6 separate regions of the Homo sapiens genome follow, and all the other regions are linked to region 5. Evidence: promoter capture Hi-C in human tissues and cell types (Jung and others, 2019). All regions are on one chromosome and are shown on one strand. The core of a region is centred on a gene start or on the middle of the fragment in contact, and the rest is flanking DNA. Distances in the headings are between cores, read along the strand shown. Region 1 overlaps LINC02208 (long intergenic non-protein coding RNA 2208). Region 2 overlaps LINC02208 (long intergenic non-protein coding RNA 2208). Region 3 overlaps LINC02147 (long intergenic non-protein coding RNA 2147). Region 4 overlaps LINC02147 (long intergenic non-protein coding RNA 2147). Region 5 holds the start of SEMA6A (semaphorin 6A). Region 6 overlaps LINC02147 (long intergenic non-protein coding RNA 2147).

Region 1 (4,082 bases), core at 18-2,517, 2.0 Mb after region 5:
TAACAACACCTTTTGGGGGAATGGATACACAATTAAATTTAAAACTAACTGATAAATACTAAACAACTAGTAACCCTTTTATTCTTCAGTATCAAGATCAGTTCGATCAGTAATAAAACTCCTAATGTGAAAATGAACAGAAAACCATTCATAAAGAGCAGTGTGGATATTTTATATATAAATTAGCTCTGTCTCACTTATAATAAAAATAAATCTAGAAGATGCGTTTTACATTTAAAAAGTCAGTTTGAGTAGAAATGCCCTTCCATTTCAAAAGTCTAAAGATTCTTCATCATCACTTTTGGCCATCATACCATCATGATGCCACACTTTTTAAGCCATACTTTCAAATCTTTTTCTATATAGCAACTTTAGTATTGATAGTATAATTCCAAGTGTTTACTCTGCGCTTCTTATGTGATCACAATTGTTGGGTTTTTTTAATTTCCTTATTGAATTAGTTACTAAAAGTCAAACAACTTCTCTTGACTGTCACCTGGAAGCTGATGATGATGGTGGATATTCAGTGACAGCTCTTCATAAAATATGAATTGTTCCTGAAAACTGTCCTAGCTTGTGATTAAAAAAAAAAAAGAAGAAGCTTTATCCACAAGTGGTAATTTCCACCACCTAATTCTATTGCCTGGGATTGGACAGTCATCTGCATTCATGTTCTTATTCAGTGCTACACCATGGTATGACATTTTCAAAGGTATTTACATGGCACATGGTGTTATAAGTACCAGTAACATAGCTGAGGGACCATAAAATTAACTGATACCTTCTGTGCATGAAAAAGTTCATATATTCACAGAAAATGTGCCCTAAGTTTTAGTCCTCTTATTGTTAGCTAGGTAATTTATTTTGATATTAATAAAATATAATAGAAAGTCTCAGTTCCAGGAACTACTCTGAAACATAGACCTAAGAGGAATTCACAGGGGCATTACACAAAGTGACAGCATTTTGCTAATGGACTGTTAGCCATAGATACCCTCTACGGAAGACTGACTGGCCTCTATCTGGCAAAGTTTTTCTTGTTGTTGTTTGTTTGTTTGTTTTTTAGGGGGTGCAATAGACGGATTTCTAAGGCAGCCTCTTAAAAATGCCCTGCCCTACCCCCCAGAAACTGTGACTACAGGATATCACACACGAGTATGTTTGTTACATGACAAAAGGGACTTTGCAGATGTAATGAAGGCCACTTGTCAGTTGACTTTAAGATGGGAAGATTATACTGGTTTATCTTGGTAGGCACAATATAATCACATGAGCCCTTAAAACCAGACAACGTTTTCTGGCTTATGACAGGGAGGAAGGCAAAGGGAAAGTCAGAAAGAGTCAGAGCAGAGGAAGAATTCAGTGTAACACTGCTGGATGAAAGATGGAGGGGGCCACATGAGAAGGGACTCAGGGGGCCCTTGTAGCAGACAGTGGACCCTAGCTGACAGCCAGTAAGGAAATGGGAATCTCAGTTCCACACTGCAAAAAAAAAAAAAAAAAAAAGATTCTGCCAACAATCTGAATAGGCTTGGAAACTGATTCATCCCCAGAACCTCTCAGAAAGAGTCCAGCCTGACGGAAACCTTGATCTGGCCCTTGGGAGACCCTGAGCAGAGAACCCTATTAAACCTACAAAGATTCTGACATACAGAACTGTGGGTGTTGTTTTAAGCCAGAGTGTTTGTGATCATTTGTTGCCGCAGCAGGAGGAAACTAGCACAGGCAGACTGCACATGGAGCAGGAGGAGAGGATGGAGACTGTAGTCCAGACAGCCTGAAAAGATAGTGTAGTCCAGTTGATCGAGGGGATGATTGGTGTCCTAGCTGTTTCACCTCTACCTACCAGACATAGAGGTAACAACATAACCTGTGAGATATGCATGTGAACCATCAGAGTATAGCTATCTATATATATAATTAAGGTTTTGTAGGGTTTCTCTTTTTAGGAAAGAAGTATAAGCAGTTGTTCTTACAAATCCGAATTTTAAGTGATATTATTTTTTAAAAAGAATTATTCCTCATCTAGAACTTCAGAAGTCAAAAAACCTTAAGATCCACATCAAAATGGTTTTAACGGTGTTTTTGCCTAACTCAGTAAACATAAAATTCAACATATCATACATCATGCCAGGCATTTTCCCACTTTCTCAATGATTTCTGTCGATTCAGTTTACTCATACCTACATTTTTCACCCAAAACAACTATTCCCTTTTCTAAAAGAGTGGACATCTGCTCACCTCAAAAACAACTATTCCCTTTTCTAAAAGAGGGGACATCTGTTCTTATTCAACCAGTATTGATTAAATGACCCTATTAGATGCCAAAACATTCTACTATTAATAAAAACTGATCGAAGCTGAACAAGATATAATCCCTTCTTTCAAGGAGATTCAAGAGATCTAGTATGGAGGACGTAAAACAAGAAAATATTCACTTACTAAGCTATCACAGGTCTAAAGAAGAAACCTAGAAACTGGAAACTGGATGATAAATAACTTGTGGAGGTTTAAAGTGTCACAGTGCAGAGACAGAATGTGAAGCCTTGTCATAGCTGTATATTTAAGTTTTTAGTTCACCTTTAAAACTTTTCTCTAGATATACAAATCATGACAGATGTGATGAATAAATTCCACAAGTGAAAAACACAGGTGAGGAAAATACCAAGTGTTATAATTTCATCTATAAACAGCTCAGTCTAATCAAGAGACAAAATGGTCAGAAAGCATTTGATCTGTTTTTTTTTCTTGATATTATTAGTTCTATAGCTAATACAATGTTTTCAGAGCTGGGGTTTATTTTTCTGACTTGTGTTATTAATTTGTTAGTATAAATTTGCACCTGTCAACACAGATTTACAGCAATGGAACTACCTACCACAAACATTATAGGCTTCAAGGACACTCAGTTAAGAGCTTGAAACACTTAAATTGCTTTAACACTTGCTACTATATTTCAGTTTTACTTATATGAAAACATAAATAGCTAGAGTCCTGATAGAAGAAAAAATTATTTTGGTAATACTTCTGATTTTCCTCCCGATTTTTCTTTCGAATTCCAAGGTTATTTTCATCTGTGAATCACTGCTTCCAAAACCAAATAATGATGATAGTAACTCTGCCCACATGGGGATATGGCAGGAAACAGGGCTAAATTTCACTTCCTACCATAGAGCAGTTCAAACGCAAAAACATTTGTATGCTTTGAAGTCATACCAACTCAGATCCTTTGCAGAATTTTTTTAGTAAATGCACTAAAAAGGGAAAATTTAAAAGGGGATTCATGTGCTTGGAATTGAACTGTGACATTAACTGAAAATATGAAATGATTCCTGCCCACAAGAAGTATTCAAGGTAGTTGACAGTAGAACAATACACTGAGTTTGACTGTAGGGACTACCTTCCATTCCCACTGCTCCTCATCTAATCCAGGCCTTCATCATCTCTTGCCAGGACAACTGCAAAAGTCTCTCAACTGCCCACCTGTCTACTACTCAAACACCTTTCAAATAGTATCCATCCCTGCTGTATACAGACTTAATCAAAATTCTTTGTTTGGATTATATTGCTTCCCTGATTAAAAGCATTTGATGGCATAGAAATGAATAAAATTCAAACTCAGTAAGCACTAAAGAAACCTATTTCCTGCCTTCTTCCCAACTCTCTCTCTCTCTAGCCTCTTCTCTTTAACCCCCTAGTCCTGCCATTTTAATGCATGATCCAACCAATCTTAGCTTTTTTGCCTTTATGCACCACACCTGGCTGTTTCATACCTCCAATGCCTTCTTGTTGCCTGGAGTGTTTTCTCTTCCACTCCCACACACTCTTACCCCAGTCTCCACAGGTAGAAGAGACCATCTCCTCCTTTGTGTTGCCTCGGTATCCTCCATAGACTTCCTTCCATCAGACCTTTGTCATCCAGGCTGGAGTGCAGTGGTGCCATCACAGCTCAGAGTAATCTCAAACTTCTGGGCTCAAGTGATCCTCCCGTCTCGGCCTCCTGAGTAGTTGGGACTACAGGCATGCACCACCACTATGTTTGGCTAATTGTTTCATCTGTTAAAATCTGTTGAGCAAACAAG
Region 2 (4,266 bases), core at 563-3,062, 2.0 Mb after region 5:
TTTCTTCATCTCTGTCCCTTCTCTGGGAGTTTCCAATATCTCTCACTACCTAAAGTCTGCAGCAGAATCCTCTCTGCTAGGCTTATAATGTAATTAATTTCCTCATAGCTTACTATGTGAGTATAATACTTCTTAGAATGTGTGCCCCTTGAGTACAGAAGCCTAAAGTCAAGTCTTAACTATGCAAATATTCAGGGCTGATGTCAAGAGCTAAGAAGGTACATGATGTAGTAGTGAATTGCGCATGGATCTTAAAGCCAGTACTTAAGAATAACTCTACCACTAAGTCTTCATTTGAATAAAATGATTTATTTAACCTCTCTGGATCTGTGTCATTTCTGAAATATGATAGTCAAATTGTGGTCTCTTGTTCTAATCATCTTTGCTGAATAACAAATTTCCCTAAATTTAGTAGCACAAAGACACAATCATTTTATTATTTTCATGAGTTTTGTGGATTGAGAATTTGGAGAGGACACCGTGGCTCAGCTCTTCTCCATTCCATGATGTCTGGGGCTTGTACAAGGAGACTCAAACAGCTGTAGCTAGAATAACATGGGCTGGAAGATCCACTTTCAAGACAACTTCTTCATACACATATCTGGTAGCCTCTCCAGGTGGCCTGGACATCCTAAGTGCATGGTGGCCTCAGATAGTTGGACTTTGTACACAGGACTGAGAACTCCAAAATGTGATGATCCTGTTTGACAGGACAGAAAGAACACGGCATTCTATAACCTTGGAAAGCATATAGTATGCCCTCCACTCTACTGGTTAAAGCATTTACAAGTTCAGTCAGATTCAAGGGAGAAGAATTTGACTTCACTTTCCGATCAGGTTCCTGACATCGTAGGAAAGCACGAAGGATGGGAGTTATCGTGGTGGCCATCTGGAAAATTCAACACATCCCTGCTTTCCCTTCTAGCTCTAAAAATCTGATTCTATGCCTTACTTAGATTCCCAGTAGATATTCAATTAAAACATCTCCTCTGCTCTCCAGAAGGCAATTTGAGAAACACAGGATGTGGGCTTTTTATACATGTAACACAGTAAGAGGATAACATGAAACTATTCTTGTTCAAGCATTGAGGTATGTGTCACACATTGAAATCTTGTAAACATAATGTGAATTCAAACAAAGAAGGTGTCATCAAAGGTCCCATTAGTCAAAGAGAGTCCATAGACTCAGAAAATTTACTGACCCTTAATTGTTCACATTATTTTATTTAATCTTATATTAATCCTGAGCAGTAAATATCACATTCATTTTTTTTTTTTTTTTTTGAAGATCAGGAAGCTGAGCCTCAGAGTTTTAAAAAATTGGCCCCAGGTCCATGGTTAGTCTTATAGGTTTTGTTGCCACATTAGAGGTTGTAGCACAAGATTGAACTGTTTGGAGATGGGTTCTCTGTGTGGAATTTGCCATAACTAAGAACAACAAACGGCCCATTCTTAGCTTGGGAGACAATATGAAAGAAAGGCAAGAAGTAGCAGGGAGCAGGATAAATGAGGTGGGAGCAGTGGGCTAAGGAGGGACATTGCCTGGGCTACTCAAAGAGCAGAGTATTGGGTTGCAGCAAATCATGAGTTCTGTCTCGTGCAGCAATATCCACATATAACAACACATGAGGTTACTCTATTATCAATCAGAGAAAAAGGAGATTTGCAAACCTAGGCATTTGCCAGTCTCCACAATGGCCCCCAAAGACAGACTATCCTGCCTAATCTTCTAATCTTCTTGTTAATCACTTGTGGTAATGGGGTATAAAGACCTGGTTCTTGCCCATTACCATGCAAATTACTATTGTTGTACAGCATTTCATATTTCCAAAATATTTGACAATAATTTAGCAGCTACTACTCTTCATCTGGAAAGAGAGAGTAGGTAATAATCAGATAGTTTTCATTTGTCAGATGAAGACATTTGGCATTAAATCAAAGACAGGTATGAAAATTATAATTTCAAATTCTTCATTAAATCCCAGAAGCCACACACCCTCCACTACCACTTCATTTTTAAAATGATTTAAAAATCTTGAACGTTCATGAGATTATTTAAAATTTATAACACCTGCATTTCTGCCTTTAGTTTTAATTCTCTTATACTTTTTATGTTAAAGGATCCAAAGGGTACTGGGGTAGAAGAGAAAAGAACTAAACCAAAAACACAAGTCCATTCTCCCTTTATCGTTCACCTTCATTCTGCACATATTGTTTGACTGTGGACTGTGATGAGGGCCCTAAGTCTTTAGAGGACAAACAACCTAAGGGGAAGAGGGGGCAGGGCAGTACCAGAGCCTGTACAATGTTTAAATTACATGCAGACTCTGCTATTTAACTAAGAAAGATTCCACTGCCCATAGACTGAGGCACAAGCAGCTTGAGCTGGAAACAGAAAGGGCCCCCTAAGAGAGCAGAAGTCCCTGGAAGAAGTCAGATGCTTGACTCTCTGTTGCCAGCATAGGCTCCAAAATGTTCTGCCCCATCAACAGGTCAAACCCAGTCCTGAATGTGGCCCTACAGTAGCAGCTCTGTATGTGATTTCTGATGGTAGAACTAGGGTTGTAGGACCCTCTGACTGTGACACATGTCATGCCTCTGGGTTGACCTGTCTGACTGAGCTGGTGTTCTCTCTTTCTCCTCTATATGATATGCATGTAACTTCCTAGGTGTAAGAGGAACACATTTCAGCCCATAATATATAGGTTACCATTTGCCTGCTACAGTCATTGATCACGTGGACTAAAAGGCAGCACCTTATTGCCCCTTAGTTCTGTGGAGAATGACTCAGCCCAGCTAAAGAGATTCTGGCCTCAGCTATAGAACTTCACTGTTGTGGCCGTAACAACCAAAGACAAGAACAACGAACTTTTATCAAGCACATACTAAGTTCTAGTCACTCTGCTGAGTTTCATATACTTATCTCACTGAATCCTCACAAAAAAAAAAAACTCTCACATGTAACTACTAATTTTATTCTTATTTTACTGATGAGAAAAAGCAAGGCTCTTAAGAGATGTAGAATGTCACTACTGGGTGACAGAGTGGTATTTCAAACGAGGCATCTTAAAACCATGTTCTTAACCATATGCCAGTCTGATTTGCAGACTATGAGACTCTATAATCCTCTGCTCAGACAAGGGATGGCTGATCCAGAAAAAACAGCAGTGAGTGAGATGCTATGAAGAAGTCAAAGGCATAATACAAATGATCCCTGTTCTCTAAGCTAAGGTATCACCAAAATAAGATATCTATATAAACTGCAATAAATAACAGCACAAGATATAATATCATCAAACAGTACAACAGATCCTCAACATCCCAGACAGATACAAGATATTTCCAAGAAAAAATTTGAGGAAATTCATAAATTTTCTAAAAGCATGCAATTTTTCTCAGAAATTGTAGCTATGCATAGCTTCATAGATGGAATTGCCTCATACCTGATCAGAGTACAGACAAACTGAGCAGCAGATGGAGCTTGCTCAATCACTGAGTGACTCACACTACTCATAGCTTCCTAAAGATTGAAATTCATACCTCAGCACAGTTAACAATCCACACTGGGCCATGGGACAATCTCAGATTTTAGTTAGTCCTATGAATCCTATGAATAATAATACAGGAATTCCAAGGTTTAGCAAGCAAATTTATAGCCAAAATGAGAGGGGCAAGTAATATGTGAAAGGAGCTCAGAGATGAGACTTCACCAAGTCCTCTTCTGTATGACTTGCCTGCTTTCTCTTACCTGCTGATAAGATTTACACATCTGCCTGTAAGGCTGAATTAAGCCCCTACGGACTCTTTTTGCCTTCCTTTCAGGCTTCAGGGCTTTTCATCAAAGGGGTGTTGGGCTCCAAGAAACCACACACAGAGCATTTTATACCTTTTACCAAGGCTGGGCAGAGGGAGATCAGTTACTGTTAATTACAGATGCTTTCTGTCATAATGGGCCAGATTTTCAAAAGAGTCTCAACTGCAAAGCTCCCAAATGCCATGCACAAACCTGGTAATGGCCCATGCAAATTGAATACTTAGTGGGTCTGTGTGCATTCTGTTCCAGGGACTGCCTTTGAAAATTTAGCCCCATAACTCCAAAGCATTTGTAGCATCGTAATCTGTCATCATTAGCAACAATGCTTGACTCAGTGCTCAACATTCTTATTAAGCATGCAATTATGAATGCAGACAATGTTTAATCACTTTTACAAAAATACAGCTGTGTTGTTGGGGAGCTGTCATTTACTGCTCATTAATGATTGATTT
Region 3 (4,609 bases), core at 1,316-3,815, 1.4 Mb after region 5:
GGACTACAGGTGGGTCCCAGCTAATTTTTGTATTCTTAGTAGAGACGGGGTTTCACCTTGTTGGCCAGGATGGTCTCGATCTCTTGACCTCGTGATCCACCCACCTCGGCCTCCCAAAGTGCTGGGATTACAGGCGTGAGCCACTGTGCCTGGCCAAAAATGTGACAGATTTCTACTATAATACTCAAGAAAAAGTAAAACTTTGCAACAGCCCCAACTTGTGGTATATGCGCTCATGACTTTCAAGTTAATTCTTTGTATCTCCTCAGCTTTTATATCCCCAAGTCTCATGCAGATGACTTGAGTAATTAGTATTCTCATGAAATTATCTACAGTGTATAGATAAATTTAGTTTCATTAAATTTAAAATGCCTTGCCAAAGGTCACACGCCAAAATACTAAAGAAGATCCAGATTCAGGGCACAGATATTGGGTTCCCTGAACTCAATACTAAAGACATTGTGTCCTCTTTGTGTTTTCCAAGGATAACTATTCATTATTCATTCAAATTAAATGTTCTAGTGAACAACATGAAAATTATCTTACTTTAGTTACACAGAGCAAACTGCAAAGCCAAATGGGACTTCTATTGAATATTATAATGGAACAGGTCCCAGTGAAGCCCTTTTACTTGATAATGTTCATTGGTAACTCAATTCAAAAATTACCTTAAAAAGTTCAGCTGTGAGGCAAGGCATTCAAATGAATTACTTGAGCATGACCTAAAGGATTTGTGCCAAAAACTAATTCATTATTTTTCAGTGCCTCTCTAAGTAATTTTCTTTGGCTATTTAACATATATATATCTGATGTGAAAGCCCCAAAGAGTAGTTGAGAAACTAACACCTGATAAATTTGTAGAATCATAGCCACTAGATGCAGAAGGATCAAAGGCAACCAGACTGGATGGAGAAATTAGGCTTTATTAGGCTGTGGTCTGTTCTGAAATTTTCTGTTTCCCACCCTTGTCTTGGAGGATGCTTTGCTTGAAAACTAAGAATTGCATAGCTACACTGGACAGAGTAATTGTTAAATTTTAGAAAAAAAAAAACACACCTATTTTCCAGTTTCAAAGAACAGCTTCTATTTCCTCTTCATAATATACATGCTTATGGACTGCATGCAGTAGAAAGTTGGCTGCCTTTTATGGGCAAAAGAATCCTTCATAGGATTCAACCAGCTCACAGAGGATGGCTTTGGGGTTAAGAGCAAAATATCCTTAAGACTAATTTGTGCAATTTTGTCCATAGATGGGGGTGTGTGTGTGCGCATGCACGCATGGTGTTTACTTCCATATGTATGTGTTCATATCTCCCTTGTGAACCCAGGGTATTGATAGAGAAAAAGTTGTGATGAGACAGGAGGGAATGAATGGGATTCAGATTTTGAATTCAGTAGACTTCTAAATCTAGTTCTCCATGCCGCAGAAACTATGACAGTTGTGTTGAAGACAGAAAGACCACTCTACTCTTGACTTCCCGTTTAATGATCAACTGAAAATTTAACAAGCTGCTAGCCACTCTTTAAATGCTCACACCTAGTCCTAGGGAGAACCGATTTCAGTTCTAAAAAGGGTCTTTCTAATAAGTAAGCCTCCCCCTCCCTAATAATTTGAGTTGTGAATTCCTGATCCCCGAGGCATTTTAGCAGAGGCTACATGGCAGTGGGTCCTACATCCTCCAAAAGGGACTCAGTTAATGAATTAATGATGGATAGTAGTCAGTGATCTGCAAAATGCCTGTTAACTCTAAGACTCTGTAATTCTAAAATCCAGTTGTTAGAACTAGAACTGTGGTCACACCAAATAGCTGCCTGATGAAACAGGTAATAAAGACAAACATCTATGACAGGATGGAGCCTGAAGAACTAACTCTCAGGATCAATACTCCAGTCACCAAGTGACAGGTAGCAACGACAGCTGCCAGAAACTTGCTAACCTCTCCCAGTCAAGTCAACCTCCCTGACTTTTATGTTTGTCTATTTGGCAGCCCTCCTAATATAACTATTGTTGAACTTCTAGTTAACTTCAACAACAGTATAATGTATTGCATCAGTATAAATTTAATTCTCTTACAGACAATTTTACAAAGGAGCACTGTATTTTGAATTATCCTTATAAATACTGGCACTATTTAATGAGCTCAATGCAGCATTGCAAGTTTGCAAGTTTTATGGGATGGCTTGAGTGGAAATGTTATAAAATGAGATTTCAACATGTAAATCCTCAGAATTCGTATGTTGTATTATCAGAAAATCATCACTTTAAGTAAAACTAAAGCTTTTGCACACTCACTTCATTTTTGGCTCTGTTGGTTTTGTTTATGTATGTGTGTGTGACTTTATCTCTTTTTTTGCCATTGGATTTAGTAGGAATGAAGGACTAATGGGCATTCCGGGTTCAGGGTACAGTTTGTCACACTAGGCAGCCAGTATTAAAGTCTCTTTTTTCCCCCAGCAGCCATTTCTCTCTCAACCAGTAGCCAGAAATGAGAGCTCAAGTACAGGGGGGCCATCCATTCTGCCCTCAAACTTTTCCAGAACAGCTTTGATTGCTGCTCCAAAACCATGGGCTTTCTAGGAGTAGGAGTTGCTTTATCCTTGCTTTGATGCAACATTCAAAATCTTTCTAAATTTCATCTTTGAATCTTAATTTTTAACCTCTTAGTGGTGCTTCAAATATTTTTTCCTATTCATTTAGCAACATTTTCAAACTGCATTTCCCTGTAATTTGTACCTCATTTAACGTTATTGCTTGAAATTATTTTGGGATGGGGTTAGTTCCAGAGATTTCCCACAAAATAATGTTGCATTGCCTTGCTCAGTTAAGGACACAAGTTAACTTAAAACAGATAGGAATTATAAGCAACACGATCTGTGGAATCATACATATGTAAAAATAAACAGATTCATATGTCAGAATTCTTCTAGTATCAGACTTTCTGTATCTTTGATAGAAATAAAATTTGTGAAAAATTTTTTCATAAGCAGTTTCGAGAAGACAAATGGTTCGCTTAAGCTTCTTCTCTGAAGACAAATAGTTCTCTTCAGTTTCTCCCCTGAAAATGACTACAATTATAATTAGTTATTGGAAATTTGATGAACTTCTTGCAGGCTGTTCATAAACAGTACCTGCAATTACCCAGTCTTTTGCCATTTATACCTACTCAGTACTGTGTTTCAAGTTGAAATTGCTGCACTGGTGGTTAAGCAGGCATCTAAGAGAAGTAAGACAACCTAAGTTACATAAAGTAAATTTAATATAATTGATTGATAAGCATTAGCCCTGGGGTCAGAGAAATCTTACAATTGGAAATAATTGAGAAATTTGGAATATATGAGAGGAAAGAACTTAGGCATAGTGCAACTTAATCCTTTCAGCCTTAGATTTTGGCATTTATAATAACAGGTAGAGAAATAGATTGGGGTGGGGGAGGGTGGAGTGGGGAAGGTACACTTTCTTCATAGTCACAAAAATAGCCAGTAGAAAGAAGCTCTCTAGGCTTTCTTGAAAATAAGCTGTGTCTAATGGAGACATCACTTTGCATCTTTCTTGGGGGACCCACAGAGGTACATCTACAGAATTGGTCACTTGTTATCTGCCCTTCCCTTCTGCGAATGCTCTGTTTTTCATTGTGCCTGGGCCTTCTCATCGGCTGCCATGTCTGTATGGTATCACAATCAACTTTTTTTTATTCCAACTTCAACTCTGCTTAATCACTACCACTTAATCCTTCTTTGCTTAAGTTCACATATATTTATCATAAAAATTAAATGGAAATATTAGTGTAAACCACTGACTCCTGTGCCAGTATCAGAATAATGGTTTAGGAACTGCTACCCTATCATTATCCTCATTAGTATCATCAGTAGCAACAGCAGCAGCAGCCTTCTTATTCCTTCTCCCTTTATACTATTGTTTATATTATGCTATGAAAAATATCAACATCAATTCTGTCCATTAAGATACATAAATGCTTATGTTCAATTAGATTTATGTACCAATTTTTTCCGGGAGGACAACCGGGTCTTTTGGGGGTAAGGGGGAAAGTAAAAATAGCTAACGGCATACTTTTGGAAAAATATTATATATACACACACACACACACATATATATACATATATACACATATATACGCATATATATACATATATGTGCGTACATACATACATATATACGCATATATATACATATATATGCGTATATACATACATATATATGCGTATATATATGTACACATATATATATGTGTGTGTGTATATATATATTTTTTGAGACAGAATCACTCTGTTGCCATCTCGGCTCACTCTAACCTCCACCTCCCAGGTTTAAGAGATTCTCCTGCCTCAGCCTCCCAAGTATCTGTGACTACAGTCATGCACCACCATGTTCAGCTAATTTTTGTATTTTTAGTAGAGACAGGGTTTCACTATGTTGGCCAGACTGGTCTCGAACTCCTGACCTCAAGTGATCCGCCCGCCTTGGCCTCCCAAATTGCTGGGATTACAGGCATGAGCTACCACATCTGGCCATTATTTTGAAATTTTTTACAGAAATAAATAGAAAAGACAATTGAGATATATTTTACAAACAGCAGTATTATAATATTAA
Region 4 (4,470 bases), core at 1,912-4,411, 1.2 Mb after region 5:
GGGGAATGTGACTGATGTGCAGCTACACAAGAGTTTTAATTAATTTGAAATACTACAGCAGCAAGTAAAGATAAAGTTTCAATACTCAGATGTATCTAGAGGCCTAGTATCATTAGCAACTTCGTCAATATTCATTCATCTATTTATTCATTTATGGGAGTCTCATGCATAACTAGAAGATTTGAGCTGTTTAGAGAGATCAGCCAATCTTCCCATGGGGAAAGAACACTTGTTCTAATATATTAATGATCAGTAGAAATTAAGTTATGCAAGAAGAAAGAGAGAAGCCTTCCAAGTAGTGACTATATAAAAGTTATTTTAGTATGAAAAAATCTGTTGAGTACAAAGAATAGCAAGAAGGTTTGTGTGGCTAGAGTGAAAAGACTAAGAAGGATAGAGTATGGTTTGAGATGATGTTGGGGAAGTATGTGGAAACCATATCATGCTAAATATTGTCACCCATGTTAGAAGTTTTTGTCTTTATCATTAAAACTATGAGAAACCTCTGAAAGTTTTAAGAAGTGTGACTATGTATTGTTTGTGGTACAGATATCTTTCTGAGTGTGTCTATGGGGTATCTAACTGTGGCATGTAGCTGTGATTCTCTGGGTGCATGTGTTTGGATGAGTGGCATAAGCAAATTTTATTAACCTATTCAATAAGTATTTTGAGCACCTGTTCCGGGTACTCTTCTAGTTCTTGAAATGAGACCTGTAGATAAGATACACAAGATTTTTGATTTCATGGGAACATTCTTCTGGGAAAACACAAGATTTAAAATACCCAAAGTCAAATAATGAAATAATATAATTTTGTGTAACGATATGTGCCATGAAGAAGATTAAGTAAAGTAAGAATATAGAGGATGAGATGTGACAGTGATTAGGGGAAACCAAAGTGAGGGAGTGAGTTATGAGAAGATGTAGGGAAGAGCATTCCAGACTGTGATGAGTAAGCGAAAGTCTTAAGGGGGGTATGAGCTTAGCGTGTTTGAGGAGCAACAAGAAGACTATGAAAGAGGCACCAGGCTAGGACATGAGTTGAGATGAGTTCAGAAAGGTAGTTAGGGTTTAGATTTAAAGACCTCACATGGCATATTTATTAGTGCCTTCCCACTGTGAAGTATGGCTAAAAGATTATAGAGAACAAGGGAGGATATAATGATAGATGCAGAGAGTGACAAGTCTTTTGCAATAGATTTGGTAAGATAGAGTAGTAGTTTGTGGAGGAGGATCAGATTCTGGATACGTTTTGAAGGCAGAGCCAACAAGACTTACTGATGGATTAGATATAGACGGTAGTTGGAGAGATCATGGACAGAAAAACTAATTTTGTTTTGGGCCTGTGCAACTGGGTAAATGGTGATAGCACATACTGAGATGGAGAAGATCAGGGGGAGAATGGAATTAAGGAGAAATTATTCTATCATGTATTTGGGATTTTTTTTATAATGTCAGAATAGGCATTCTGACATTCCTGTTAAGCATACAAGCCAAGATCAGATTATGAAGTTGAACATGAGTATGGTTTGCATTTTTAAAATGTGTCTACCTTTGATGTAGAGCAGATTGTTGTGAAAGCACTCTTGCCTCCCACCCTACTCTCTTAGTAACCAAACTGTAGTCAAAGTGTGATTTAAATGTACATACTTAAAGGAGGAGGTGGTAGAAGGAAGTGATATCGTAACATTGAAGAGTTCCAGATGTAACTTGAGCTTCACAGTGGAGTGGGATGGAGGAGATTTAAAGATTTCCAGGGTGTTGGCTGTGAGCCTAATGAGTTTAGTCCTAATTTCCTGATGGAGGAGGAAAGTGAGGTATCCATCCCTTTCCATCCAATTATAGAACCCTCTGCAGATCATCATGTAAGGCTATAGACTGTGTGCATGTACAACTTCAGGAGCAATGTACCTAGAGTGAGACAGGAGAGGTGGCTGGTGGTCCTTGGAGTGGAGCGGATCGGCAGACCTCCTTCTATCACTTTTATTATTGTAAATCTATGCTGTCTGATACAATAGCCATTAGCCATAGATAGCTACTTAAATTTAATAAAATAAAAACTAAATAATATTTAAAATGCAGTTGTTCTGTAGCACTAGCTATATGTCAAGTGCTTAATTCTCACATGTGGCTGGTGACTACCATACTGAACGGGGCAGATACAGAATATTTCTATCATCAAAGCAAGTTATTTTAGACAGTATAATATGAAGAAAGAAGTGGATTGGATGATTTACTGTATTTCTGCCTTGTAGTTCAATTTCTCTCTCTTGAGACTAAATGCAAATATTTTATATTATAGAGAATCCAGTATGAATTCAAACTTAATCAGGAGTTTGTGATAGGAAATATCCAATAGGTTGGAGTCATATACTCCTGCAATTCTCCTATATGGGCTTTACCTTTAAAATATTAAGCACACACACATATATATACCATCTTAGATAATAAAACAAATCACTGCTCTTCTTATATTGAGACTTGGAAACAGCTTCTGCATTAATTCAAAGAAACACAATAAAAAATAGAGTTGGTCAAAGCTTGTTTATTCTATTTAGAGTCCCAGAAATGTACTTCCTATTTCTTTTGTTCCAATTTGATGAAGCTTTGACACTACAGCGAATTATGTAAGTTATAAACAAAGAACTACATCATTATGAGCAGAACTTAACGTAATATCGTAATATCAGCCTTTAATGGTCTTTTGTAAACCTGTGGTATGAATAGCAGTGCCTTACAGAAAATAGCACAACTGATCTAAAGAAAGCACTTTCATTCTGCACATTAACTCATTCAAGAATAAAGGACACCACACTATACAATGAAGTGTATTGAAATAGAAAAATTCATGAAGCCAAGACTGCCAAATTATTTATCTTTCATTAAAAGAGAAAATCACACATTATTATCTCTGGTAAATGAACGTGTTTGTCAAAGTTGGCCGTGGGCTCAGAAATAATAATCATAAGAAATTCTATCCTCAATAAAGTAAGTATAACTCTGTTTTAATATAAATTTTAGGAAAGGGATTTCTGAGCATGGAGTACTTTCAAAGGAAAATTTAAATAGCCCTGTGGGTCTTGCCTGACCATCAGTAGGGATGACACATGCGTCTCTACAACTCGGTGGAATAGCTCATCCATGCCAAAGATATTTTTCTATCCTTGTAACTCAGTTACTGATCAATTCATGCATAAGCAAGAATCTTAATAACGATTGAAGATTTTCAGCTATAGAAGCTTGGAATTCTATGCCCAGAAAGGAAGTAGATATGCAACACTTTTTAATTTTAATAACTCCCCCTTTTTACTTTTTTGGAAAATTTAAATAATATGTGCCAGAGAAAGATACCAAACAAGAATTTCCATTTCAAAACAGTTTCATTTGAGGCTATACAATGAATAGCATGGAGATAATGTGCAGGTGTCCTGTCTTGGTTCTCACAGTCAAGAGCAAAAGTTTCAGCCTACTAAAACTGAGAGCTTTCAACTTAGAAACTCTTTTTGTTCTAATCATAAACCATGCATTTGCAGGAAGCAAGGACATGCCAAATTAAATAAAAAGTTTCCTTTCCTGTTTCAGAGAAACTCTGAAGAAGGTTTTTCTTTTTAAATTATTTGTTTATTTATTTTTTTTTTTTATTTTTAGGGGCAAACTGCCAAGTCTGTAAATATTCCTGGAAAAATTTCTGAATAGGCACCTCTTGATATTTTCATTGAAGAGTCTTGTCACCTTAGAAAAAGGGAAAATATGCTGCATCCCTTAGCTATTCAAGGAGAAACTTGAGTTACAGTGAAAGATTTCTGCTATGTTTTTAGTATGATCTTCTGAAAGTTTTTGTAGATGCTGAAACTTCTGAGGGAGTTAAAAATTCACCTTTAGAACCAACCTGGCTGGCTCTAACCCCTGAAATGTTTTCCATTATTCATAGTTGCTTCAGGAGCTCATATTAACTTTCAATAGTACTGTTGTGATAATTAATGATTATGGCACCTCCATCCTGCAGGCCCTGCCCCTTTATTTTGCTGTCCTCTTGATGGAGGTTTAGATTATCTTTCTATAGAAAATATTTCATTTTAAAGAAAGTTGTGTGTATTATTTTATAAAACAATACATTCAGGTTCCATCTCATACCTCTTTTTTTTTTTCTTTTTTGGTTTGGGGGATCTATTGGACCTTTCTCCTATTTTTACTACATTCTAACTCACAGAGATGATCTGAGTTCACACCCCTTTGTTGTCAAAAGAGGAGAGACCTTTGGAAGCCACGTTGGCATACTTTCAGGTACCAAAGGAAGAAACTTAGACATAAAACTACCAACTGTTCACAGCATTGTAGAATGCCAGAGCTGGAGAAAACCCTGAAAAAAAATGCCTGAGAAACATAGCAAGATATTGTCTCTAAAAAGTTTTTCTGAAAGTTAGCCAGGAGTGGTGGTGTATGTCTGTAGTCCCAGCTCTCTGGGAGGCTG
Region 5 (4,428 bases), core at 1,624-4,123:
AATAATTAATTAAACCACCAGTCCTCCCCGCCATCACTGTAGCATACCACAGACTTGATGCCCAAGATGTGTCCACCAGGGGAAGGACGACGAACAATTTCAGGACTAAAGAAAGACAAGGCAAAGGCACTCGACCTTCCCATCCTGGCAAGACTTAAAAACCAGCGCTGGGGGGCATTAAATAGCTTTTCTGAGACCTGCTGGCACAACACTGCAAGTGGGTTAAACGGCTTTTCAGATCTGAGGTAAAGAAAGTTGTGCGTACAAGGGCGAGTGTGTGCGTGTGTGTGTCCATGCACGCCTGTGTTTTAAACCTTTCACAGATCGCATTCAGTAGCGTAAAAAAGCTGAGCGTAAAAAAAGGAGCGATCCCACTGTGGCTGTGCCTGGCCACCGCAGTTCCAAAGCAGCCACCTTTCTCCCAAAGACCGACGCGAAAAAGCCTGCAGGGCTCCCCAGTGCGATACAGGCCGGAGACTCCCTGGAAGTGCTTGCCCCGGCTGTGAAGACAGCGCCTCCAGTCTCCCATTCCTCTCCCGCTCCACGCACACCTGGCTCTGCTTCCTCCCTCCCTGGATAGCCACGCTGGGAAATCGTGCGCAGGGAGCAGATGGCTCGGGATTCTGCACCTGAAGCTGCCTACTTGCAAGCCACTGAGCCCCGGCCTGTGTCCACACGCACCTTCCCCACAGCCTCTGTCCACAGTGGCCGCACCTGCCTCCGGGGTCCTGCTTCCCCATTCATCCCTTCCCCGACTTGTCGAGCAAGTACCGCGGGCCAGGAGGTTCCACTCTCCAAAGGGCCGGGATCTAGCTCCTAGCTGCATCCCGAGCTGTCCGCATGATTCCCTCCAGGTCCGGCTTCCCTCAGACTGCACATGCTGAGCCCCAGTCCGGTCGTGCCTGCCGCCCCTGGCTTTCAGGGAAACTTTCCAGGAGCGCCTGGTCTAGTGACCCCGCCGCTGTAAAGTGGGAGGAGGCGCTGGGCGGAGGGGCGGCGAGGGAGCGGGAAAAACAGCGGAATTCTGTTTCCTTTCCCGACGTCCACAAGCCCGGGACCGCTCCCTGGCTCCCCCCGTGCCGCTCGGGTCTTGCGAGGAGGGAGGAGACCTCAGGATCCTGTTTTGCACCATCTCCCACAGCGAGGAGCTGAGCAAAACGCGGAGAATCGGGACAAGAGACACTTCCCGCCCCAGAAGGATCAGGCAGGGTGGGTGGGCACTGCCCGGCTTACTCTCCAGCGCCCCATTGCCCCCATGGTAGCGCCCTAGGACACAGTGAGGAGTCGGAACAGAGCCCTAGTCTGGGTTTCAAACCCAGGGCCATCTTCTGCCAGGTCTCTCACCCTTCCCCCTCCTGGGTCATCTTTCCAGAGCGAGACCGCGCTGATCTGGGAGGAGGGCGTACCGTGCGCCAGCCCGGTGCAAAGGGCTCGGTGCTTCAGGAGGGACGCAGCCGCGACGGGCTATATCCTTGCCGCTCGGGTTGGGAGCTGCGGCGGGGGACAGGACCCATGGCGGGGGCGCCGCGTCACCCGAACGGCTGCTCCCGGACACTTATTCGAGCAAACAAAGCCCGGAACCTCTGGTGGCAGCGGCCACAGGAGCCAGGATCTCACCGAGAGACAGGGCGCGCGGGTGCCTAGAGCCATTACAAGTTTCTTGCACTCCACGGAGCCCAGCCCAGACCCCACACTGACAACAAAAGATTCTCTCCGCTTCCACACCGTCTCCGCGGAACCCCTTCTCCCACCTGGCACTGGACGAAAACAGCGCTGTTATACCCAACCCCCTCCAGCCCTCGAGGGCAGAACCCCTTCCCCTGCCTTCGACACACCGGGCCAGGGAGCTTCCGAGAATCCCACCATTTAGGGCCCGCTCTGCTCCCTGCTGGGCACGCGGGAGGATGAGCCTTGGGTCTCGCACACACACCCCCAGGAGGAACAGCCATACGCGCCGTCGCGGCCCGGGGCGGCGCCGGGCGTGTGCGCAACGCGGGTGGGAAAGCTCTCGACGTGGAGCCGGACGCACTCTGGGGCGCAGGGCAGAGAGGAAAGGCAGGCAGGGCTCACGGCTGCTCCCCCAGGACCGGGCAAGGCTCGGGAAACAGAGACACAAGACAAAATAAAACGCAGGCACCACAAAGCCGACAGCACGCGCTAGCCACGGCCCCGGGACCCTCAGGCTGGAGTCCAGCTGCCCGGGAGGTGGGGCGCGCCCGGGCGCCCGGGGCGTACCTTTTCGGTGCATCGACGGACAGGCGGCCGGGGCTCGGAGCGAACTGGTACAGCGTGTATCCCATTTAGTAATCCATTATCGAGGGGATCTCTCCGGGCCGCGGGCTGCGCTCTCTCCTTCGCAAGCCTTTGTCATTCCTACATGTGTGCTTGTCTCTTTGGGGGAAATAGTCGCGGCGACTACTTTCTGGGATGCAAACGCGATGTGTTCATCTCCAATGACGAGCGGAGAAGGGGAGAGGAAAAAAGAAGCCAAAAAAAAAAAGAAGAAAAAGAAAAAGAAAACCAACAAGGAAGAGGGTAAATGTTCAAGAAACTCTTCTCCAAATCCAAATTCCACTTGGATTCCACTTCGGTGAGTCCCCTTGGTGGTGTCTGCGCCGATTAACAAGTCATTTCAGGGCGGGGGGCGGGGTGGGGGCTGGGGCAGGGGTGCAAGGCTCTGGCCCGGCTCTGCGGCCGGCAGCGCGGTGCCGCGGGTGTGGTGATGCTGGCCGCTGCTACACGCTGCTAAGCGGGCATCGCGGGCGACCGGCACCGCGGAGGAGCGCCGCTGCTGGGTTCCGAGCGCCTGGGCAGCCGAGTGCGCGGGGAGCGGAGTTGGCTGCAGCCTCACCCCGTGCCGCTCACTACTCCTCTGTCACCGGAGAGGCCGCCGCTCCCGGGCGGAGCCAAGTCCCGGACTGGATTGCGCAGATCGGACTCTCCTTCCGCAACTCCGCCTACTTTGGCTGGCGTCTCCTCCGACCCAAAGGAGAGCTGTGGTGTATGTGAGTGCGAGTGAGCGAGGCAGAGGCGGAGAAACTACGCGGTGTGGCTGCAGGTGGAGCCTTGGACCAACTGGCCAGCGCCGCTTCCTTCCACCAGGATTCCTGGCCCCACCGCGCGCTAGGCGGAGGCTCAGCGGGGGCGACTCTGGCTGGAGCCCAGCCCTCACCTCCCCCACCCCCACATCTGCTCTAGCTAGGAAAAAAAAAAAGAAAAAAAAAATCCCGGACAGCATTGCTGAGTCCTGCCAAATCAGAAAAATAAATAAAAATAGACGTAGTGCAGGAGCGAGTTACAAGAAAGGTTTTGTTCATCGATTTTCTTAAATGGAAAAGTTTTAAAGGATGAGGGTAAGTGAACGGCGAGCTTTTCTGATTCTGATTACTGTTATCAAGAGGTAGATTCCAGAAGCGATGGACGCTCTACGTAGTTAGATGAATTGGATAGAAGCCGGTGCGGTTAAAAATACACTTGGAAGATAAGAACACAGCTATTAATTACGCACATACACACGTTAATAAAGCATGTGAAGTAAGCAAATAAACTACAGTGCAGAGAATGGCGTTTTTAACGACGGCGATCTATTTTAAAACTTAATGAAGTTCACATTTTGTGGACTGGTCTTAGAAATAAGTAAACTTCAGAAATAACACGCATACAATTCCAGTGAGAACCCAAAAGGTTTATGGAAGAAGAAAATCGCAACCACTTCCAAGGCGCTATTGTTATGATCACATGAAGAATGGCAGGCACAGCCTTCTTTCACCACTTGAACTTTCAATAGCTACAAAGTCTTGCAGTTACAGGCTTGTGCCAACTCGTCGGGCCACACCACGTTCCCCTCCCCCTGCCGCTGCGCCCCGAAATCAACTGCGCGCCGCGGCTCTTGCTCCCCAAGGGGGCTTCGCAGATGGTACGGATCCTAGTCGCAACCTTTAAACAAAGTAACATCGGGCGGCCCAGCAGTTCTCGGAGAGATATTTACTAGTCATGGAGTTGGCTGAGAAAAGCAAGTGCGGAGATCGGGGTCTCAGTCCCACTTAGGCCGAGTTTCTTTATATTGGAAACTGTACCTGTTCCCTAATTGGGACTAAGACCACTAATAAGTCCACGTTCCCTCTTTGGTCGCTTCTCTAAGTACAGACATCTGCTTAAGAGGCTTCACGAAGAATAAATGCACATGGGTCAACACCCATTCCCCCCGCACCACTACCACCACCTGGAAAAGGTAGGGAGAATGGTAGGAAAAAAAGAAAAAATCAGTACCCCTGCTGTTCTCCAGAGCTGTCAGCAGGGGCCGCTATCCCCACCTTTCTCGGGCAAAGGCCTCTATAGACCTGGGGTAGTGGGGGGCGCGGCCCTAGGTGCGCGCGCAGCCCCCGCGGCTTCAAGAGCCAGCCTCGGGAGGGGGTTGGGGAGTGTGGG
Region 6 (4,444 bases), core at 1,036-3,535, 1.5 Mb after region 5:
GCCCCTGGGAGGCCACTGGTGAAAGCCTAGAGTCCAAAGGCTGAAGAGCCTAAAGTCTAATGTGCAAGGGCAGGAGGAGAGAAAGCAAGCACTCAGCTCTGGACAAGAGAGACCGCCAGAGGACTAGCAAACAGCTTCTCTCTTCTTCTTCTGTCTGCTTTGTTTTAGCCATGCTGGCAGCCAATTGGATGGTGCCCACACACATTGAAGCTGGTTGGTCCTCTCCCAGTCCAATGACTCACATGTCAATCTTTCCTGGCAAATCCCTCAGAGATATACCCAGAAACAATACTTTAGCAGCCATCTAGGCATCCCTCAATCCAGTCAAGTGGACACCTACTACTAACCATCATGTTCACCATGCACCTAGCTTACACCTTGCTCTCTATTGATAATAATAAAAGAAAAATTCCTAAGAGAGAACATGATATTTGCATTCATTATTTAGAGCTGTGTAACACACTACCTGAAAACCTAGTGACTATAGCTAACAAAAATGTACTGTACTCAGATGATGGAAACCCTAAATGCCCTAACTTGACCACTATACATTATATACATGTAACAAAATTTTACATATACCCCATAAATTTGTGTAAATAACAAAAAACTTAGTGATTTAAAACAACAGTATTCATTATGTCGCAGTAAGTCAGGAATCCTAGCACAGTTTAGCTGGGTCCTGTGCTCTGACTCTCTCACAAGGCTACAATCAAGGAGCTGGCTAGAGCTCTCATCATCTCAAACTTCAACTGGGAGCAAGATTCATTTACAAGCTTGCTCACTTGGCTGTTGCCAAGATTCAGTTTCTCATGAGCTGCTGTACTTAAAGCCTCACTTTCTCTACAGCTATTAGCCAGAGGCCTCCCTCCTTGGTGCCTTGCCACATAGATCTCTCCATTGGGTAGATCACAACATGGCAACTGGTTTTTATCAGAATGAGCAAGTGAATAAGGAAGAGAAAGTGCCTTCAACATGGAATCACGGTTTTCATAACCTAATATCAAAAGTGACATCGATCACTTTTGGTATATTCTACTTGGTAGAAGCCAGTCATCAAGTCCATCCCACATTTAAGGTGAGAGGATTACACAAGGTATGAATGTCAGGAATTGGGGGTCATTGGGAACCACTTTAGAAGTAAGGCTACTGCAATGTCTTTATGAATCAAGTTGCCAAAGGAGATTGCAATCTTCAGGAAAAAAATAGATCGAAGTGTAAAAGTTTATTTGCTACATTTATTTGCTAGTCTTACCCACTTTGGATATCATCCTGTTGCCCTCCAATTAGCTACTTAATTCTATTTCCATTCTCAGTACACTAGAATGTGGCTAGACTTAGCTGTCAAACACTGTAAAAAGATTTGCCTCTTTCTTATCATGGACAGCTACTTTAAACTTATTTCTCACAAATCTCTCTAACCCAGGGGTCCCTAACCCCCATGCCATGGATCGGTACCCATCCGTGATCTATTAGGAACCAGGCCACGCAGCAGGACGTGAGTGGCTGGCAAACCAGCATTACTGCCTGAGTCCTGCCTCCTGTCAGATCAATGGCAGCATTAGATTCTCATAGGAGTGAGAACCCTATTGTGAACTATGCATGTAAGGGATCTAGGTTGCATGCTCCTTCTGAGAATCTGATGCCTGATGATCTGAGGTGGAAAAATTTCATCAGCACCACCCCTGCCCCTGCCCTGTTCTATCATAACATCAAGTGCTCAGGTTTTTCTCATGCTCTCCCCTTGGCCCCTTTGAATACCACCTCATTACTCTCCAGTTAGCTACTTACCTCCATTTCCCTTCTTAAAACACTTGAATGGGGCTACTGCTGTCTCCAAAGCACTGGTCCAATGCTTGTCAAGATTATCTGTTCACATTGAAAGTCAACTGCTTCTTTTCAGATCTTAGCTTAATTGGCTTTCTCTGTCATTTAGTACTTCTGAATGTGTCCATCTTCTAGAGGTACTTTCTTCCTGAGGCTTCATGACATCATCCTCTTAGTGTTGCCCTACCTGTCTGTCCACTATTTCTCAGTCTTCTTCACAGAAAAATCAGTCTGAGCCTAGCTTATTAATGTTCACTTTTAGATTTCTAGGTCAGGCCCTCTTCTTTTATTTTTTATTATGCAAGTACTCCTAGGAAGATTTTAGCCACTATTCCTATTTTAATTACCTACTATATGTGAACAACTCCTAAGTTTTATCTTCAGCACATATTTCTCTCTACTAAACCTCATGCTCCTATTTAACTATATAAGAAACATCCACTTGGTAATTCGAGTTTAATGTCAAACTGAGTTCTTCACCTGCTTCAATCAACTCCTAAGAGCCTCCTCCTCTCCATGATTAGAACGTCCACGCATTCTGCCAGCCAAGCCAGAATCCCCATAAATCCTTTGCTCCTTCCTTTACATAAATACCTCTAGCCAATCAACCATCAAGTTTCAATGAGAAGGAAAAAGAGATTGGGTGCTAGGCTAATCCTTACCTAGTACTTCACAGCCCCCATACTCCACACTTAACCTTCACATTACATGAAAATTATATCTGGACGACCTAAAAGGTAGGCAGAATAATGGGTTCTGCAAAGATGTCCTAATCCTCAGAACATGTGAATATATTATATTACATGGCATGAGGGAAATAGGCTGTAGACAGAATGAAGGTTGCTAATTAGCCTTAAAATGGCGAGAGTATTTTGTGTTATTTGGGTGAGCCCAATGTAATTACAAGGGTTCTTAAAGGTAGAAGTGAGGGGTAGAAGAAGAGTCAATATCAGAGTAATATAAATTTGATAAAGACTAACCCAGCTCTTGCTGGCTTTGAAACTATAAGAGGCTATGAGTCAAGAAATAAGGGAGGCCTCTAGGAACTGGAAAAGTCAAGAAAATATATTCTCCCCTAGAGTCTCCAAAAGGGAACACAGCTCTACCAGCACCTTCATTTTAGCCAATGAGATGCTTTTCAGACTTCTTACCTCCAGACTTGTAAGATAGCCTGCTATATTTGCATTGTTTTAAGCCACTAAAATTATGTCCATTTCTTAGAGCAGCAATAGGAAATTAATACATCTTATTTTTCATTGAGTCATTTTTTATTATTTATGTTAGACTAAATCTGACAGACTCTGAATGTTTGAAGTATATCATCTCACTCTTATCAAATAATCAAACCCAAGAGAAATTCCAAAATGCCTTTACAACAGGCAGGAGGTAAGAAGCAAAGCTGAACCAGACCACTAAACAAGACGCTACTCTTACATTCAATAACCTATTTACCCTGGTTAGATTTTTTAAATTCCTGAAACTAAATTAAGGAACCCAAGTTCCCTTTAAAGAGAATTATCTTCTACAAGGTTTTGGAACCAGGTCATTGTCATTAAAAATTTACCTCTCATAACATTTTTGCTTCAATTTCTATCATTTCGGTTTAGGAAATACTAAAAGAGAACAAATAAATTGTTTAGGGAGAGAAAAAATACAGCTCGGAAACTAGATATACATAAAGAAAGGAAGAATGTGAGAGAAGGTATAAAAATAAGATTTTTTTCTTATTCTTAGTAGATCTAAAAGGTAAATATTGGCTTAAAGTGATAATAGTAACAATGCATTGAGTGATTATAGAATGTGAAAAAATAAAACAAATAAGATCGACGTCATTGAAAGGAAGAAGAAATTGGGAATACTATGCTATAGGTATGAATGAAGTAGTGCAGGTGGACTTAGATAAATTAAAAATGTATATTGTGGGTATACATGGTGGCTCATACCTGTAATCCCAGCACTTTGGGAGTCCGAGGCAGGCAGATCACCTGAGATCAGGAGTGTAAGACCAGCCTGGCCAACATGGTGAAACCCCATCTCTACTAAAAATACAAAAATTAGCCAGGTATGATGGTGGATGCCTGTAATCCCAGCTACTCAGGAAGCTGAGGTCGGCGTATCACTTGAACCTGGGATGGGGAGGTTGCAGTGAGCCAAGATCATGCCACTGTACTCCAGCCTGGGCAACAGAGTGAGACTCTGACTCAAAAAAAAAAAAAAAAAGGATATTGTGAACTCTAGTACAATCACTATCAAATGTGAAAATGAAGAAAAGGTGATATATTAAGGGAGGAGATAAAATAAACCAATACAAAAATGCTCAAATAAATAAAACCAGGAAAGGAATAAAAAGAAAAACTACCAGAAAAAAAAATGCAAAAATAGAAAGTAATTATACACATGGTAGGTATTAATTCAACTGTATCATTAATCACTTTAAATGTGAATTTTCTAAATACACCAATTAAAAAGCAGAGATTGTCAGAGTAGATTAATAAAATAAGACCCAACTAAATGCTGGCTACAAGAAAACTAACTGTAAAAATCAGAGAAGTTCAAAGTAAAGAGGTGAAGATAGATGCAAAATACTAACATTTACATTAATAAAAAAAATCAGGAA

What was found. The method cuts DNA at HindIII sites, captures the fragments that hold promoters and counts their contacts. A contact is called where the count stands out against the background at its distance.
Region 1: a contact is called between a fragment that was not itself captured here and the fragment with the promoter of SEMA6A in region 5, in 1 of the 25 tissues and cell types used here (hippocampus).
Region 2: a contact is called between a fragment that was not itself captured here and the fragment with the promoter of SEMA6A in region 5, in 1 of the 25 tissues and cell types used here (dorsolateral prefrontal cortex).
Region 3: a fragment that was not itself captured here is called in contact with the fragment with the promoter of SEMA6A in region 5 in 1 of the 25 tissues and cell types used here (hippocampus).
Region 4: a fragment that was not itself captured here is called in contact with the fragment with the promoter of SEMA6A in region 5 in 1 of the 25 tissues and cell types used here (dorsolateral prefrontal cortex).
Region 6: a contact is called between a fragment that was not itself captured here and the fragment with the promoter of SEMA6A in region 5, in 1 of the 25 tissues and cell types used here (dorsolateral prefrontal cortex).

What each region holds. Positions count from the first base shown.
Region 1 is chr5:118,524,445-118,528,526 of GRCh38, forward strand. All of the region lies in intron 1 of LINC02208 (long intergenic non-protein coding RNA 2208), which reads right to left. Among named protein-coding and RNA genes, the nearest start is that of LINC02208, 36 kb to the right of the region's middle. The HindIII fragment of the contact is 8,006 bases long and covers 1-4,082 here.
Region 2 is chr5:118,545,450-118,549,715 of GRCh38, forward strand. The region is part of intron 1 of LINC02208 (long intergenic non-protein coding RNA 2208); the gene reads right to left. Among named protein-coding and RNA genes, the nearest start is that of LINC02208, 15 kb to the right of the region's middle. The HindIII fragment of the contact is 7,310 bases long and covers 1-4,266 here.
Region 3 is chr5:117,989,267-117,993,875 of GRCh38, forward strand. The region is part of intron 2 of LINC02147 (long intergenic non-protein coding RNA 2147); the gene reads left to right. Among named protein-coding and RNA genes, the nearest start is that of LINC02147, 260 kb to the left of the region's middle. The HindIII fragment of the contact is 4,554 bases long and covers 289-4,609 here.
Region 4 is chr5:117,736,999-117,741,468 of GRCh38, forward strand. All of the region lies in intron 1 of LINC02147 (long intergenic non-protein coding RNA 2147), which reads left to right. Among named protein-coding and RNA genes, the nearest start is that of LINC02147, 8.9 kb to the left of the region's middle. The HindIII fragment of the contact is 4,936 bases long and covers 694-4,470 here.
Region 5 is chr5:116,571,950-116,576,377 of GRCh38, forward strand. SEMA6A (semaphorin 6A) reads right to left here and starts at 2,874. Exons shown (of 19, transcript NM_020796.5): 1 at 2,236-2,874. SEMA6A-AS2 (SEMA6A antisense RNA 2) reads left to right here and starts at 2,469. Exons shown (of 3, transcript NR_147170.1): 1 at 2,469-2,590. RefSeq lists an enhancer at 151-932 and a silencer at 2,630-2,709. The HindIII fragment of the contact is 11,240 bases long and covers 1-4,428 here.
Region 6 is chr5:118,086,648-118,091,091 of GRCh38, forward strand. The region is part of intron 2 of LINC02147 (long intergenic non-protein coding RNA 2147); the gene reads left to right. Among named protein-coding and RNA genes, the nearest start is that of LINC02148, 190 kb to the right of the region's middle. The HindIII fragment of the contact is 6,440 bases long and covers 1-4,444 here.